3 separate regions of the Homo sapiens genome follow, and all the other regions are linked to region 1. Evidence: promoter capture Hi-C in human tissues and cell types (Jung and others, 2019). All regions are on one chromosome and are shown on one strand. The core of a region is centred on a gene start or on the middle of the fragment in contact, and the rest is flanking DNA. Distances in the headings are between cores, read along the strand shown.

What was found. Contacts are between HindIII fragments. The study calls those that stand out against the background at their distance.
Region 2: the fragment with the promoter of RALY here is called in contact with the fragment with the promoter of CEP250 in region 1 in 1 of the 25 tissues and cell types used here (hippocampus).
Region 3: a fragment that was not itself captured here is called in contact with the fragment with the promoter of CEP250 in region 1 in 1 of the 25 tissues and cell types used here (aorta).

What each region holds. Positions count from the first base shown.
Region 1 is chr20:35,453,056-35,457,945 of GRCh38, forward strand. It overlaps CEP250 (centrosomal protein 250), which reads left to right and starts at 2,543. Exons shown (of 35, transcript NM_007186.6): 1 at 2,543-2,696. It overlaps MIR1289-1 (microRNA 1289-1), which reads right to left and starts at 1,042; the gene lies at 899-1,042. It also overlaps a transcript of GDF5 not described here. RefSeq lists enhancers at 1,478-1,527, 1,788-1,937 and a silencer at 1,958-2,337. The HindIII fragment of the contact is 9,261 bases long and covers 724-4,890 here.
Region 2 is chr20:33,990,271-33,995,160 of GRCh38, forward strand. It overlaps RALY (RALY heterogeneous nuclear ribonucleoprotein), which reads left to right and starts at 3,641. Exons shown (of 10, transcript NM_016732.3): 1 at 3,641-3,861. It overlaps RALY-AS1 (RALY antisense RNA 1), which reads right to left and starts at 4,097. Exons shown (of 2, transcript NR_109886.1): 1 at 3,935-4,097; 2 at 2,218-2,635. RefSeq lists enhancers at 2,542-2,621, 2,558-3,084 and silencers at 2,862-3,111, 3,282-3,391, 3,572-3,701, 3,762-3,811, 4,032-4,361. The HindIII fragment of the contact is 6,560 bases long and covers 1,567-4,890 here.
Region 3 is chr20:34,453,214-34,458,103 of GRCh38, forward strand. ITCH (itchy E3 ubiquitin protein ligase) reads left to right here. Exons shown (of 25, transcript NM_031483.7): 13 at 4,177-4,261. Among named protein-coding and RNA genes, the nearest start is that of MIR644A, 11 kb to the right of the region's middle. The HindIII fragment of the contact is 4,557 bases long and covers 1-4,334 here.

The sequences.
Region 1 (4,890 bases), core at 1,293-3,792:
TGGCTAACACGGTGAAACCCCGTCTCTACTAAAAATACAAAAAAATTAGCCGGGCGTGGTGGCGGGCACCTGTGGTTCCAGCTATTGGGGAGGCTGAGGCAGAAGAATGGCGTGAACCCGGATGGTGGAGCTTGCAGTGAGCCGAGATTGCGCCGCTGCACTCCAGCCTGGGCGACAAAGCAAGACCCCGTCTCAAAAAGAAAAGAAACAGAAGACTATCCTAGAAAGTATAGGGTATTACTTTAGATAGCATGGTCAGGGAAGACCTAGTTGAGGAAGTATCATTTAAGCTGGGACCTGAAGGACAGGAAGGTACCAGCTAGGCCAAGAGCTGGGGGAAAAGTGGTCTAGGTAGCTGGCATAGTGTATGCAAACGCCCTGAGGCAGAAAAGAGCTTGATGTGCATAATATTTAGATTGTTTCATTTGTATTTCAAATATTGTTGCAGTGAACATTCAAGCACAATGCCTGTTGTGGGATTATTTCCCTAGGATGGAATCCCACACCACTGCTTCTTTGCATCGTTTTCTCTGTCTAGTGCCTGGAGATGTTCCTTTTCCCCTCTCTAGATAGTTTGCCTTTCAGAATCCGTGTCCTTCCTTCCCCTTTTACTCTCCACTTTCTCTATTTCTCAAATTAGCTATTAAGATCTTTTTTGTGTTCTTACAGGAGAAAGATAAAATATAGCTTTTAAGCGTTCCTTTCTCAGGTTACCTTTGGCTGTGGATTAACCTGAAGCCTTGCTGTTTCACTCGAGCTATCCACTCATTCACCCATTCACTCAGCACTTATTGAGCACCTATTTTGTACCAGGCCTTGTGCTGAGCGCTATAGTCAGATGACCAAATTACAGTCTCTACGCTCAAGCTCACAATCTCATGCAGCGCTTCCTAAAACGTGTTCCCAATTATCAGAATCACCCTGGGTACTTTCTAAAATGCAGATTCCTGGACTCCACCCCCGGTTTAGGGATTCTCTGGGGGTGGAAACCAAGAGTCTGCATTTACCAGTTTTGTTTTTAATTCCTACTAAAAATTGAGAACCACTGAGTGCAAGAGTGAGGCAGGTAAATGGAGTTTACAACTCTAAGAAAGTGCATTAACAATTTATACACAAGGCCGGGCGCGGTGGCTCACGCCTGTAATCCCAGCCCTTTGGGAGGCCGAGGCGGGAGGATCACGAGGTCAAGAGAGATCGAGACCATCCTGGCCAACATGGTGAAATCCTGTCTCTACTAAAAATACAAAAATTAGCCGGGCGTGGTGGCGGGCGCCTGTAGTCCCAGCTACTCGGGAGGCTGAGGCAGGAGAATTACTTGAACCTGGGAGGCAGAGGTTGCAGTGAGCCGAGATCGTGCCAATGCACTCCAGCCTGGCGACAGAGCAAGACTCCATTTCAAAAAAAAAAAAAAAAATTTATACACAAAATGCTACAGGAATAACGCATGGGTCCTATTGGGAAGAAAAAGTTCTCTAGAAGTCAGGCTTAAGCAGAACTGCAGCTCCGGGACGGATTAAGTCAGGTAAAGGTAACACTCTGTGCAGAGACATGCAGACAAAACCGAGTGTTGAGTAAGTAACTCGCCTGTAAGTGTTATGCTGCCTGAAGCTTCTCGGAGCGTCTGAGCAGCAAGGTGAACAACCCTCAGAAACCGGTCGCGCTGCCAGTATTATCGCTAACCAGTGGCAGCGAGCCCCTTTGTTTCTCGGCAGTTGTAATTGTAGTCTGGTTTGTAGGTGGAGCTGTGCGCAGGCGCACCTAGAACCAGGTGACCTTGCACATGCGCTGTATGTAACACTGAAGCCAAAAGCGAAATGATTGAGGGCAATTTTTCTTTTCTGCTTCCGAAATGTCCCTTTCGCGAATCCAGAGACCCTGACCGTCCCCATTTCTGGCTAGGGATCTTATAATTCTTAAAATAATACCCCCTTTCCTTCAGGGCCTCTCTAGTAAGTCGGCTGCCAATACCCAACATGGCGGGAGGCCCTGCGCCGGCTCAGTCTGCCTATAGGTGCAGGACTTGGAGGGGCGGGCCCCTCCCAAAGGGCGGGAGTTTGGGGGGGCGGGGCCTGGCCCTCTGCCTCGGGGTGGGCTCCGCCCCCGTCCCCCGCAGGGCCTTAGCAGCGGCTGCCGCAGCTCAATCGCGGAGCAACTAGCCGGGCGTCTGCGGGAGCCGAGCGTGGTGAGGTGGGGCCTCAGGGGCAGGTGGGAGGTGCTCGGGTTAACCGTCCGAGGCCCGGAGACCCGCCCGTCTAGGGCGCCTGAGGGAATCCCGTTCGGGCAGCGGCCTCTTGTTACCCGGGAGGAACCCGAGGCCCAGAGAGGGGCTGGGACGCGTCGTTAGGGCCCGGGGCCCGCTTGCCTCAGCTTCTTGCTGCCGCCAGCACGCTAAGCTCCAGTCGGCGCCGAAGGAGAGCTTCCCGACCCTCGTGTCCAGTAGCCGCAATCCCAGGCTGGGAGGGTGAGGCGCCGCGCTCTGCCGCCCCCCCGCCCCTCGCTCCCTGTGTCCTGGCGGATTTGCACGTAATCTATCCGAAAGCCCAGTCCCACCCGCCACCCGACTCTGGAGCTCCCATTCTTCAGGACCCTGCTGAAGTATCGCTTCTCAGCCGCCTTCTCCAGGCGCAGCTGCATTCGCTTCTCGGTTTTTGCACTCGCTGTGCACCGAGTTACTTTCCCGGCCCCTCGTTGACACCGTAAGCTCGTTCGTTAGATGTTATGCCTTGCCTTTTTCATCTCTAGATCCCAGGGCCTAGCACGTGATGATAATAGTCATGGCTTACTGTACGGAATGATCACAAATTGTCAGGTGCTACTGAATGCATTACACATAAGGGCCCATTTATTTATTTATTTAGAGACGGAGTTTCGCGCTTGTTGCCCAGGCTGGAGTGCAATGGCGCGATCTCGGCTCACCTCAACCTCCGCCTCCCGGGTTCAAGCGATTCTCCTGCCTCAGCCTCCCAAGTAGCTGGGATTGCAGGCATGCGCCACCACACCCGGCTAATTTTATGTTTTTAGTAGAGACGGGGTTTCTCCATGTTGGTCAGGCTGATCTCGAACTCCCGACCTCAGGTGATCCGCCCGCTTCGGCCTCCCAAAGTGCTGGGATTACAGGCGTGAGCCACCGCGCTCAGCCAAAGGCCTATTTAATCTTCCCAACAATCCTATGGGGTGAGTTCTTTCTATAGCTTCACGTTTTACCCATGAAGAAACTGAGGTATTCATAGAAAAAGTAATTTGCCAGGAGTCCCACAACTAATAAGTGGATGGAGCTGGGAAACTGTCCCCAGGGCATTTGATGACTTGACTAGATTGCCTTTGGGTTTAATCAACGTCTGTTGAATTGATCTTTACTTTGGCCCTGGGAGTTATTGGAGGCTAGGCTTGTGATCAGTATTTTACCGCGAAGGCTTAGAAAGGAGAACTGGTCCCAGATTTATAGAGGTCACAACAAAACCAAGGCTACTGGTACGCCCTCTGTTCCTTTAGTTCTTCTATCTTTCTTTGCTCCTTTTCGATCAGAAAGCTGCAGACATAGGTGTCATTATCGCTCACTATTTAAGAAGTGCCCCTCACAGAGCTGTGAGTTCGTAGTCCATGCTTTAACTAATGTAATGTTCATGCTTTAACAGCTAATGTAATGGAGAGAGTGTAGAATTTGGAATCAGATTGGGGTTCAGTCATTGCTCTGCCACTGACCAAGCTATAAGTTATATGCCTCCCCCCACTTTTTTTTTTTTTTTTGAGACCTGGTCTCAGTCACCCAGGCTGGAGTGCAGTGGTGCGATCTGGGTTCACTGGAACATCCTGTCTCCCAGGTTCAGGCGATTCTCCCGCCTCAGCCTCCTGAGTAGCTGGGATTACAGGCGCCCGCCACCGTGCCTGGCTAATTTTTGTATTTCTAGGAGAGATGGGGTTTTGCCATGTTGGCCAAGCTGGTCTCGAACTCCTGGCCTCAAATGATCTGCCCAACTCAGCCTCCCAAAGTGCTGGGATTACAGTTGTGAGCCACCACACCCAGCCTGTTTTTTTGCTTTTTATATAGGTAATAGAGCTGTTAGCATTTTGCAAGACCATTGGTGATAATATGGATCATGTTACCTAATGTCCTATAATAGTCAGTAATAATGGGCACTTGTTATAAACCAGGCTGTGTTTTAGGTAGGAGCTGGGAATACAGCATTCGATAAAACAATGCTTTTGCACTTGTGGAATTTGCATTTTGGTAAGTATATTACATAATAATTAGATAGGGACAGAAAAAGCATGGTAAGGTAAATAAAAGTACTAGTGTTATGTGGAGAGGTGATAGTATTTTATTTATTTATTTATTTGAGCATCTTGTCCCAGGCTGGAGTGCAGTGGCGTGATCACAGCTCACTGCAGCCTCGAACTCCTTGGCTCAAGCAGCCCTCCCACCTTAACTTCCCAAGTAGCTGGGACTACAGGTGAATGCCACACAGCCAGCAATTTTTTTTTTTTTAATAGAGATGGGAATCTCCCTGTGTTGCCCAGGCTGGTCTTGAACTCCTGGCCTCAAGAGATCCTCCCACCTTGGTGAAACTCTGTCTCTACTAAAAATACAAAAAAATTAGCTGGTCGTGGTGGCACATGCTTGTAATCCCAGCTACTCAGGAGGCTGAGACATGAGAATTGCCTGAACCGGGGAGGCAGAGGTTGCAGTGAGCTGAGATCATGCCAGTGCACTACAGCCTGGGTAACAGAGCCAGATCCTGTCTCAAAAACAAAACAAAACACTGGATGAGATTACCTTGGAAATTAATGGAGATGGAGAAGAGGTCTGAAGCCTTGAGGTTTCCAAACTTTAGATACTGGGGAGATGAGAAAAGGCAGCAAAGGAGACTGAGTGGGAGAGGCCAGAGGTTG
Region 2 (4,890 bases), core at 2,391-4,890, 1.5 Mb before region 1:
CAGGGTGGAGGCGCCATTGGCAGTTGGGCTTGAAAAGGAAATAGAACATGTGGAGGTGGAGACAGGAGGAAGCTTTTCCCAGCCAACACCACATGGAGCAGAAGAACCACCTGGTCATTCTATAAAATTGTGAGAAGTAACAAATCATTGTTGTTTTAAGTCACTACATTTTCGGGATGATTTCTTACGTAGTAATAGATGACAGACCCCAAAGGTGGGTGTGTGATTATAGGCTTTATCCTATAAAGGTCAGAGATTGCTCATTTTTAGACCACAGCCTACAGTAATTGGCCTGCAGACATAATTCATTTGGCTTGCACAGGGTTTTTAAAAATAGTTGAGCCAACATTTAGAAATTGGGAGATTTTATATGAAAATCCAGATTTGGGGGCTCTCTTGAAGAATCCTACATCTCAGCACCTGCATTCTAGGAACAGTATGCAACACACATCCTCCAGTTCATGACAGTGCTCTCCACTCCCTATTGTCTCATGCCTAACCTTCTTTCTAGCCCCTGTAGACACCTGAGGGTTTGCTGTTGTTGTTATTTGTTTTGAGAAGGGTCTCACTCTGTTGCCTAGGCTGGATGCAGTGGTGTGAGCATGTCTCACTGTAGCCTTGGCCTCCTGGGCTCAAGTGATCCTCTGGCCTCAGCCTCCCAAGTAGCTGGAAGTACAGGCACATGCTACCATGCCAGCTAATTAAAATTTTTTTTTTTGTAGAGACAGGGTCTCACTATGTTGCCCAAGCTGGTCTCAAACTCCTGGGTTCAAGCAATCCTCCTGCCTCAGCCTCCCAGAATTCTGGGATTAAAGGAATGAGCCACTGTGCCCGGCATGACATTTGAGTTTTTGATCCATGCTGATGACATGGCAATGGGAGGCTATTGAAGGTTGTTTTTTGTTTTTCTGTTTTTGAGGCGGAGTCTCTCTCTGTGTCTCAGGCTGGAGTGCAGTGGCATGATCTCGGCTCACTGCAACCTCCACCTCCCAGGTTCAAGCGATTACCCCACCTCAGCCTCCTGAGTAGCTGGGATTACAGGTGCCTGCCACCACGCCCGGTTAATTTTTATATTTTTAGTAGAGATGGGGTTTCACCATGTTGCCCAGGCCGGTCTTGAACTCCTGACCTCAAGTAATCCCCCCCACCTCGGTCTCCCAAAGTACTGGGATTACAGGCGTGAGTTACCGCGCCCAGCCCATTGAAGGGTTTTGAGCAGAGAAGGAATGATGAGAGTTGGGCAGTAAGTAATGTATTGGTTGGGGGTAACTCTGGGGCAGGTGTAGTGAAAATCTATTATTCAATCTGCCCCAGAGCATGAACTCCATCTTTTGGGAAATGCATCTTTCTCTGACCATATGGTTCCGATGGGGCTGCCATCTCCCTGTACGTCCCACTTCCTTATTCACAGTATTGGTTAGAGAATGGCACCTGGCTTAAGTTGGGCCAGTCACAGCACCTGGTTTTCCACCCATAGATGATTGGTCTAGGGACGGGGACTTACCTATGTTGGACCAATCAAAGTTTTTCCCTAAAATTTTGTCCTTCAGACCAGAAGCAGAAATCCTCAGTCTCTCTCCGGTGGAACGGGTGAGAGTTGTGAGTGGTGAGCGCTGCTGCAGCCAGGTGCCTAGCCTTGAGGAGAAAAGCTCGCATACAGAGAGAAGAGATAAAGGACTGGGAGGAGAGTCCTGGCAACATTCAAGCCTCTGCGCTCACCACTTCAGTGCATTTTCTGAGCCTGGTTCTCCAGCCTTCCCATCAGTTCTGGGAGCTCCCCATTCCTTCCTGATAAATTCCTTTGCTGCATCTGTTAGTCTGAGTTTATTTATGTTTCGTAATTTGCAACCGAGAACACTGGTGATAACCGGGGGCTTTGAGGCAATTCCAGGAGGGCTACTTCTCACCCCCGTCAGGGAGGAGCCAAGACAGGGTTTATCCTCAAATGCAGATCCCCTGAGGTCAGGAGTTAGAGCCCAGCTTGGCCAACATGATGAAACCCCGTATCCACTGAAAATACAAAAATTAGCCGGGCATGGTGGTACACGCCTGTAATCCCAGCTACTTGGGAGGCTGAGGTACAAGAATCGCTTTGAACCCAGGAGGCAGAGGTTGCAGAGAGCCGAGATCGTGCCACTGCACTCCAGCCTAGGCGACAGAGCTAGACTCCGCCTCAAAAAACACACAAACAATGAACAGACAAATAAATGACAGAACAAGAAGACAAACTAGAGAACATCTTGAGACAAGGTGTTCAGGGAAGAGTTCTTTTGAGAAGGTGATATTAAAGCGAGTTTGGGGAAGAACGTCCCAGGCCTTGCGCTCAGGGTCGTCAACTCTTTGATTTCTCTTCCTTTTGAAGCAGGGCAGGGAGGTCATCAAACAACAGAAGGACAATTATAACTGCTGGTATGGCAAAGCCAGGACTCTGAATTCAAACTCTGCTCCATTCTCAGGAATCCCGTCTGTTAAGCAGGTTCTGGGGAAGCGATGTGAGTCATGAAATCACAGGTCGGAGGAGGCATCGAGAATATGGTCAGTTCTCAACTTTCAGGGAAATCCATAGCTGAGGAATGAAGGACAACGGGCTTCTCGTGCTCTCACTAGGAAGACTGGTTCACCGGAGGCTGGAACACTGAAAGTGAGAAATCCCGACAGGAGAAATGTGTAGGAGAGAGGACTAGCACCTGGATCAAGTTATAAAACATCTCCTGCATCTTTTTCGGAGATCACCCTTAGCGCGGCCTCTCCGCCCAGTCCCAGATTAGGCAGCGAAGAGCGACCCTCACCTTGTCTAGGTGGCACGTTCCTTAAAAGCGAAAGGACCAGGAGTTTCTTCCTGCCTCGTCTCTTCCGGATCCCTCCTGCACCGCCCACAGCCTGCAGATTTGAGCGCCATCTCCAGGCCCCGCCCACCTCAAGCACCACCCCTCAGTCCTTCCTTGGGGCACGCCTCCTTCCGGCACCCGCCCAGAGTAGCCACCCCCGGGGCCCCTCCTCCCCTCCCTGCTTCCGGGCCCGCCTCCTTCAGGCCCGCTTCCATCTTCCTCCCACTCTAAGCTTCTCTTCAGCCCCGCCTCCCTCCACCCGTGGCTCCGCCCTCTGGGCGATTCTCCATTTAGCCCCGCCCACAGCATCTCCTTTCAAGCGCTGTCCTGGTTCCCGGCTCTCCATCTCCTGCACGGCCTTCCCCACTGGTCCGGCGACCCTCTTCCCAGGGCCTCATCACCATCTTAGCTCCGCCCCTACTTCGGCTCCAAACCTGTGCAAGCTGCCCTCTTCCCGCCCCAGCCCCGCCTCCCCAAGCCGCGTCTCAGTCCCTCCTCCCTTTCAGGCCCCACCCTGGCCCCGCCTTCCTCCCGTCCCCGCCGAAGCTCTGGACCTTTCCAAAGCCAGGCTGAGAGGGTGGGGAGAGCCCATGCGCCTGGGAAGCCGGGCTGTTTCTGGGCGGGGCTGCAGACTCCTCGTGCTCGTGTCACCGTGTCCTTCCCAGGAGACAGAGAAGGAGGAGAGCCCGGAACCAGGGCCGGAGCGGCGGGCGGAGCCGAGCTGCGGGGAGCCGCTCCGGGTGCCCCCACCCCCGCGCGCCTCAGTGGTGCCGGCCGAGGGCAGGGCTCGCGGTTGCGGGGCTCGCGCCGCTGTCAGTGCGGCGGGGCGCGCGAGCGGCGCCAGCTCGGGGCAGCGGAACCCAGAGAAGCTGAGGGGGCGGTAGCGGCGGCGACGGCGACGACGACGACTCCCGCGCGTGTGCCCAGCCTCTTCCCGCCGCAGCCGCCCTTTTCCTCCCTCCCTTACGTCCCCGAGTGCGGCAGTACCGCCTCCTTCCCAGCCGCGCGGCTTCCTCCAGACCTCTCGGCGCGGGTGAGTGGGGACTGCGGGCGTCTCCTTAGGGGTGCGGGGAGGGTGTGTGCTTTGTGCCTTTCCGTTCACTCACTTCTTCCGGCAGGCCGCTGCCTATTTTTAGAAACTTATTTCTGCCCTTCGGGGAGTCCCGGGAGCCCGAGTAACTCTAGGCCCCCTCCGCCGCTCCTTTCTCCCACTCGGACCCGCCGCCCCGGGTCCCCGGCCCCAGCCCTCCGCGCCCGGTCCTGCTCCCGGCGTTCCCTGTCTGCTCTCTCCGCGGGCCAAGTCTGGGCCAGTAGTTGGCTGGGTGGGCCCGCGCCCGCTCGGAAGTTGGAGTCTTTTGTGCTCGTGCCCCGCCCCGCCCGGCGAGGGGCGGAGGGAGGGGAACGGAGGCTGCTCCGGGGAGGCCGCAGGCGGGCCCGGCCGCGGCTGCTTCCGGCTCTCCTAACCCGGACTGGGTCTACGGGCTCCCGGAGGCGCGCAGAGCTTGTCCTGCCTCGGCTCCCGCCTCTTCTGGGCTCTTTGCACGCCTTGGGCTCGGAGAGAAACAACAACGGGCCCTCGAACTGGGGCCGTATCCGCGTTTCACTCAGCCTCCTTGGCGGCCGAGTCTTAGTTTGCCTCTCGGTGACATGGGGGGAAAGAAGGAAACTCGCTTTGCGGGGTGTTCGTGGATTCAGGGAGGGAACTAATATGTGAAAGAAGTGTTTAACACCGACAGGGAACATTTAATGAGACTTCACCCAGGAACTTCCCAAGCCTTATTTCATTTAATGTTCACAACGGCCTTCTGGTTTATCCTCATTTACAAAAGCAGAAATTAAGGCGCAGAGGGGTCAAGTAATTTTCTCCAAGTCACAGTAGCCACAGAAGTGCAAAGGAGTGGTGCCAGTACCTATTATTTATTAATATTTCCTGGTGTGAGCATGTATCATCTCTTAGTGCAGAGGGTATTTTTACCTAGCCTTGGGTCACACCATTTAATTAGGGGCATAACTCTGGGTTTTCCCTGACTTCTGGGCCGTTGTCCACTATACTGTGGATGAA
Region 3 (4,890 bases), core at 806-3,305, 1.0 Mb before region 1:
TACTTAGAATATATATGAGAAAAATGTTTGCTATTAATTTTCTCTTGCCTCATGTTATCTTCTGAAAGGAAAATCTTGGCCTGAAATCTGAACTTTGCTGACAGATAAAAGATGAATGGCCATTACAGTGGCTCACGCCTGTAATCCCAGTACTTTGGGAGGCCAAGGCTTGTGTCCAGGAGTTCGATACCAGGCTGGGGCAACATGGTGAAACCCCATCTTTACAAAAAATACAAAAATTAGTTGGGTGTGGCATGCCTGTAGTTCCAGCTACTTGGGTGGCTGAAGTGGGAGGGTTGCTTGAGCCCCGGAGGTCAAGGCTATAGTGCGCTGTGATTGTATCACTGCACTCCAGCCTGGACAACAGAGTGATACTCTTTCAAAAAACCAAAAGAGAGAGAAAAAAGTTGAGTATGTGCTCAGCTATATACTTAGGGTATTATTTTTAGGTTATAAAAATTATTTGGATATATATTTTTAAACAAGAAAGAGAATTCTGGCTGGGTACGGTGGCTCATGCCTGTAATTCCAGCACTTTGGGAGGTCGAGGCGGGTGAATCACCTGAGGTCAGGAGTTCGTGATCAGCCTGGCCAACATGGTGAAATGCTGTCTCCACAAAAAATACAAAAATTAGCTGGGAGTGGTGGTGGACGTCTGTAGTACCAGCTATTTGGGAGGCTGAGGCAGGAGAATTGCTTAAACCTGAGAGGTCGAGGCTGCAGTGAGCTGAGATCGCGCCACTGCACTCCAGTCCAGCCTGGGTGACAGAGCAAGGCTCCGTCTCAAAAAAGAAGAAGAAGAACAAAGAGAGAATTCTGGATTCTGCAAATAAATTTTTAAAATTTAATGCGACTGCCAAGACATGAACTTATCTTGCTGTTATGTTAACAAGAGCAAGCTGTAACACTGTGGGTGATTATGTTTTTCTTTTTTTTTTTTTTGAGACGGAGTCTCGCTCTGTCGCCCAGGCTGGAGTGCAGTGGCGCGATCTCGGCTCACTGCAACCTCCGCCTCCCGGGTTCACGCCATTCTCCTGCCTCAGCCTCCCGAGTAGCTGGGACTACAGGCGCCCGCTACCACGCCCGGCTAATTTTTTGTATTTTTAGTAGAGACGGGGTTTCATTGTGTTAGCCAGGATGGTCTCGATCTCCTGACCTCGTGATCCGCCCGCCTCGGCCTCCCAAAGTGCTGGGATTACAGGTGTGAGCCACCGCGCCCGGCCTATGTTTTTCTTTAGAGACAGCCTTTGAGTTGGTGATAAGCTTATGCACTGAAGATGCCTTGACCAGCAAAACCTGTGTCATGAGAGGCAGAGTCCCACTTTTCTGTATATTATGCACATTGGAATTCTATTTTCATTTTAAGCTAAGCTGACATAGAAAGTAGCTTTAAATGTCAGAAGCAGGTTTGTGATACTCACTAGTTACATCCATTTTAACCTCTGTTATCACTACTACTTGAAATCATGGAATTATATTGGAAATAAAATTAAATATTACCAAATACGAACTTGACAAGACTATAATTTGGCCTAAAACTGATCCAGATGATCTCAAGTGTTAATTTGAAAAATAGTTACCAATTTTTCTTTTTTCTTTTCCTGTTTTTTTTTTTTTTTTTTTTTTTTTTTTTGAGATGGAGTTTTGCTCTTGTCGCCCAGGCTGGAGTGCAATGGCATGATCTTGGCTCACTGCAACCTCTGCCTCCCGGGTTCAAGCGATTCTCCTGCCTCAGTCTCCCTAGTAGCTGGGATTACAGATGCCCACCACCATGCCCAGCTAATTTTTGTATTTTTAGTAGAGACGGGGTTTCGACCTGTTGGCCACGCTGGTCTCAAACTCGTGACCTCAGGCCATCCGCCTGCCTTATAACTCCCAGAGTCCTGGGATTACAGGCGTGAGCCACAGCGCAGGACCAATAGTTAACCAATTTTTCAAACCACAGGAAATAAAAATTAGCCATGTCAACATGGATTAAACTTAAATTTTTGTTTAAAATGCTGATTTTTAGAAACTAAGCTTTTTAAAAAGTTTCAGTTCATTCTATGATCTTTAATACATCAGTTCATTCTATGATCTTTAATACATCAGTTATTCATTTTGAGACATGTTGAACAAATAAATTAGGATACAGCAGGAATCCCATCTTTTGAAGAATTCATTGGTAATGGGACAGAGAAGTCAGTAATTCAAAAACAGCAGAACTGTTAAAATTTCAAGTCTACTTAATTTGTTTACTAAAAGAGAAAATGATATCCACATTTTTTTTTTTTTTTTGAGACGGAGTCTTGCTCTGTCGCCAGGCTGTAATCCATCTCGGCACACTGTAACCTCTGCGTCCCGGGTTCAAGCAGTTCTCCTGCCTCAGCCTCTCGAGTTGCTGGGACTACAGGTGCACACCGCCATGCCTGGCTAATTTTTTTTTTTTTTCTTTTTTGTATTTTAGTAGAGACGGGGTTTCACCATGTTGCCCAGGTTGGTCTTGAACTCCTGAGCTCAGGCAGTCCGCCCGCCTCTGCCTCCCAACGTGCTAGAATTACAGGCATGAGCTACTGCGCCCGGCCAATATCCACATCTTCTAAACCTTAATGGGGAGATTTCAGGAAAGCAGGTAAAATTTTGTAGACTGGGAACACGAAAACAGGGAGAATCCTAAAGCAAGAGGCAGTTGGGGAACAAGCAGCAGCTTTAGATGCAGTAATTAGAGAACTGAGTTCTGCTTCCTATCCCTTGTATAGAAAGTTACTGTAGATATTTAGGATTTTGGAACTGGGTATATTAAGGAACGAGATATGTTAAGTGTATTAAGAAAGGAAGTATTTTTTAGTTGAATAATGCCTAGCATATACCTTATATTATATTCCTTATTTTGTATATATATGTATGTATATATACACACTCTCAAATTACATTATATTCCTTATTTTATATATATTTTTATATATTGTGTGTGTGTGTGTGTGTGTGTGTGTATATATATATATATATATATATATATATATTTTTTTTTTTTTTTTTTTTTTTTTTTTGAGACAGGGCCTCACTTTGTCACCCAGGCTAGAGTGCAGTGGCATGATCTCAGCTCACTGCAGTCTTGACCTCCCAGGTTCAGGTGACCCTCCTGCCTTAGCCCCGGAAGTTGCTTCTCTGTCCCATTACCAATTAATTCTTCAAAAGATGGGACTCTTCTGGTATCCTAATTTTTTTATTTGTTCAACATGTCTCAAAATGAATAACTGATGTATTAAAGATCACAGAATGGATTCAAACTTTTTAAAAAGCTTAGTTTCTAAAAATCAAGTTGTACAAGTTGTGGGGCTAAGGCAGGAGGATCACCTGAACCTGGGAGGTCAAGGCTGTAGTGAGCTGAGATCACGCCACTGCACTCCAGCCAGGGTGACAAAGTGAGACCTTGTCTCCAAAAAAAAAAATATATATATATATATGTGTGTGTGTGTGTATTTATATATACAAATGTATATTTAATATATATCAAATATATATATTAGTGGGCTGCCAGCACGGCCCACTAATTTTTTTGTATTTTTTGTAGAGATGAGGGTTCACCATATGGCCCAGGCTGGTCTCAAACTCCTGAGCTCAAGCAATCTACTTGCCTTGGCCTCCCAAAGTGCTGGGATTACAGGCCTGAGCCACCCCGCCTGGCACCTTACTATATTTTAATGAATGAAATGATGTAGTATGGAAAAAAAAAAAATCCCTAAATGGAGACCTGAGTTTCCATCTCATCTCTGCTACTTAATTCTGAGGTTTCAGGTAGATTATTTAACCTATCTGAGTTTTCTTATCTTAAGGATAAAGATGAATTCACCTACCCTATGGGACTATTAAGAATAAAATGAAGGTCCTGTGTAAAAAACTAAATAACTGTTCATTATTCTTGCTGCTGTTGGTTGGATTGAGTAGAAAGGTCCTATGGTTAGGACATTATAAAGTACGTCTACTTAGCTTCTAAGATGTAATATTTCTATAACTTCAGTAAGGATGTGCATTTAATAGTCAATAAATTAAACCTTTTAAAGCTGTGATTTAAAAACTATAAAATAAACAATGAAATGAGAAATGGGCAAATTCAAATAATTTTATTTTACCTTGAGCAAGAAGACTATGCCAATGCTAATGCTTTGCTTTCCCCTGCCCCTGCCCTTCCCAAAGAGAAGAGAACAGACAGCAATGGCAGAGTATATTTCGTCAACCACAACACACGAATTACACAATGGGAAGACCCCAGAAGTCAAGGGTAAGAATAGTTACTTGTGTATATTTAATCTCTTAAAGATTATACCTTATTTCTAACAACTGAAGAAGATCAAAGTTCATATTCTTTTGCCAAAGACCTAAAACGTTAATCACCTACATACTTTGGAAAGAGAAAATTATACTATTATTTTCATCTAATGGAAAGTTTGAAGATTTCTTCAAAGTGCAGGAAAAAACTTTAACTGGGCATGGTGGCTCATGCCCATTATCCCAGCACTTTGGGAGGCCAAGGAGGGAGGATTGTTTGAGGCCAGGAAGACCTGCGTAATGCAGTGAGACCCTGTCTCTACAAAAAAAATCCCCAAAATTGGGTGTGTTGGCATGTATACCTGTAGTCCCAGCTACTCGGGAGACTGAGGTGGGAGGATCACCTGAGCCCAGGAAGTCGAGACTGCAGTGAACTATGATTGTGCCAGTACACTCCAACCTGGAGGACAGGTTGAGGGCTGTTTCAAAAAAAAAGAAAACAATAGAAAAGCAAAAAAAATTATCTGGCACATGAGAATATACTTATTAACATATATATTATTTTTAATTACTAAGAACAGATTAGTGATTCTAAATCAGGGTTTCTTAACCTGAGATCACTGGTTAAGAATCTAGGGTATG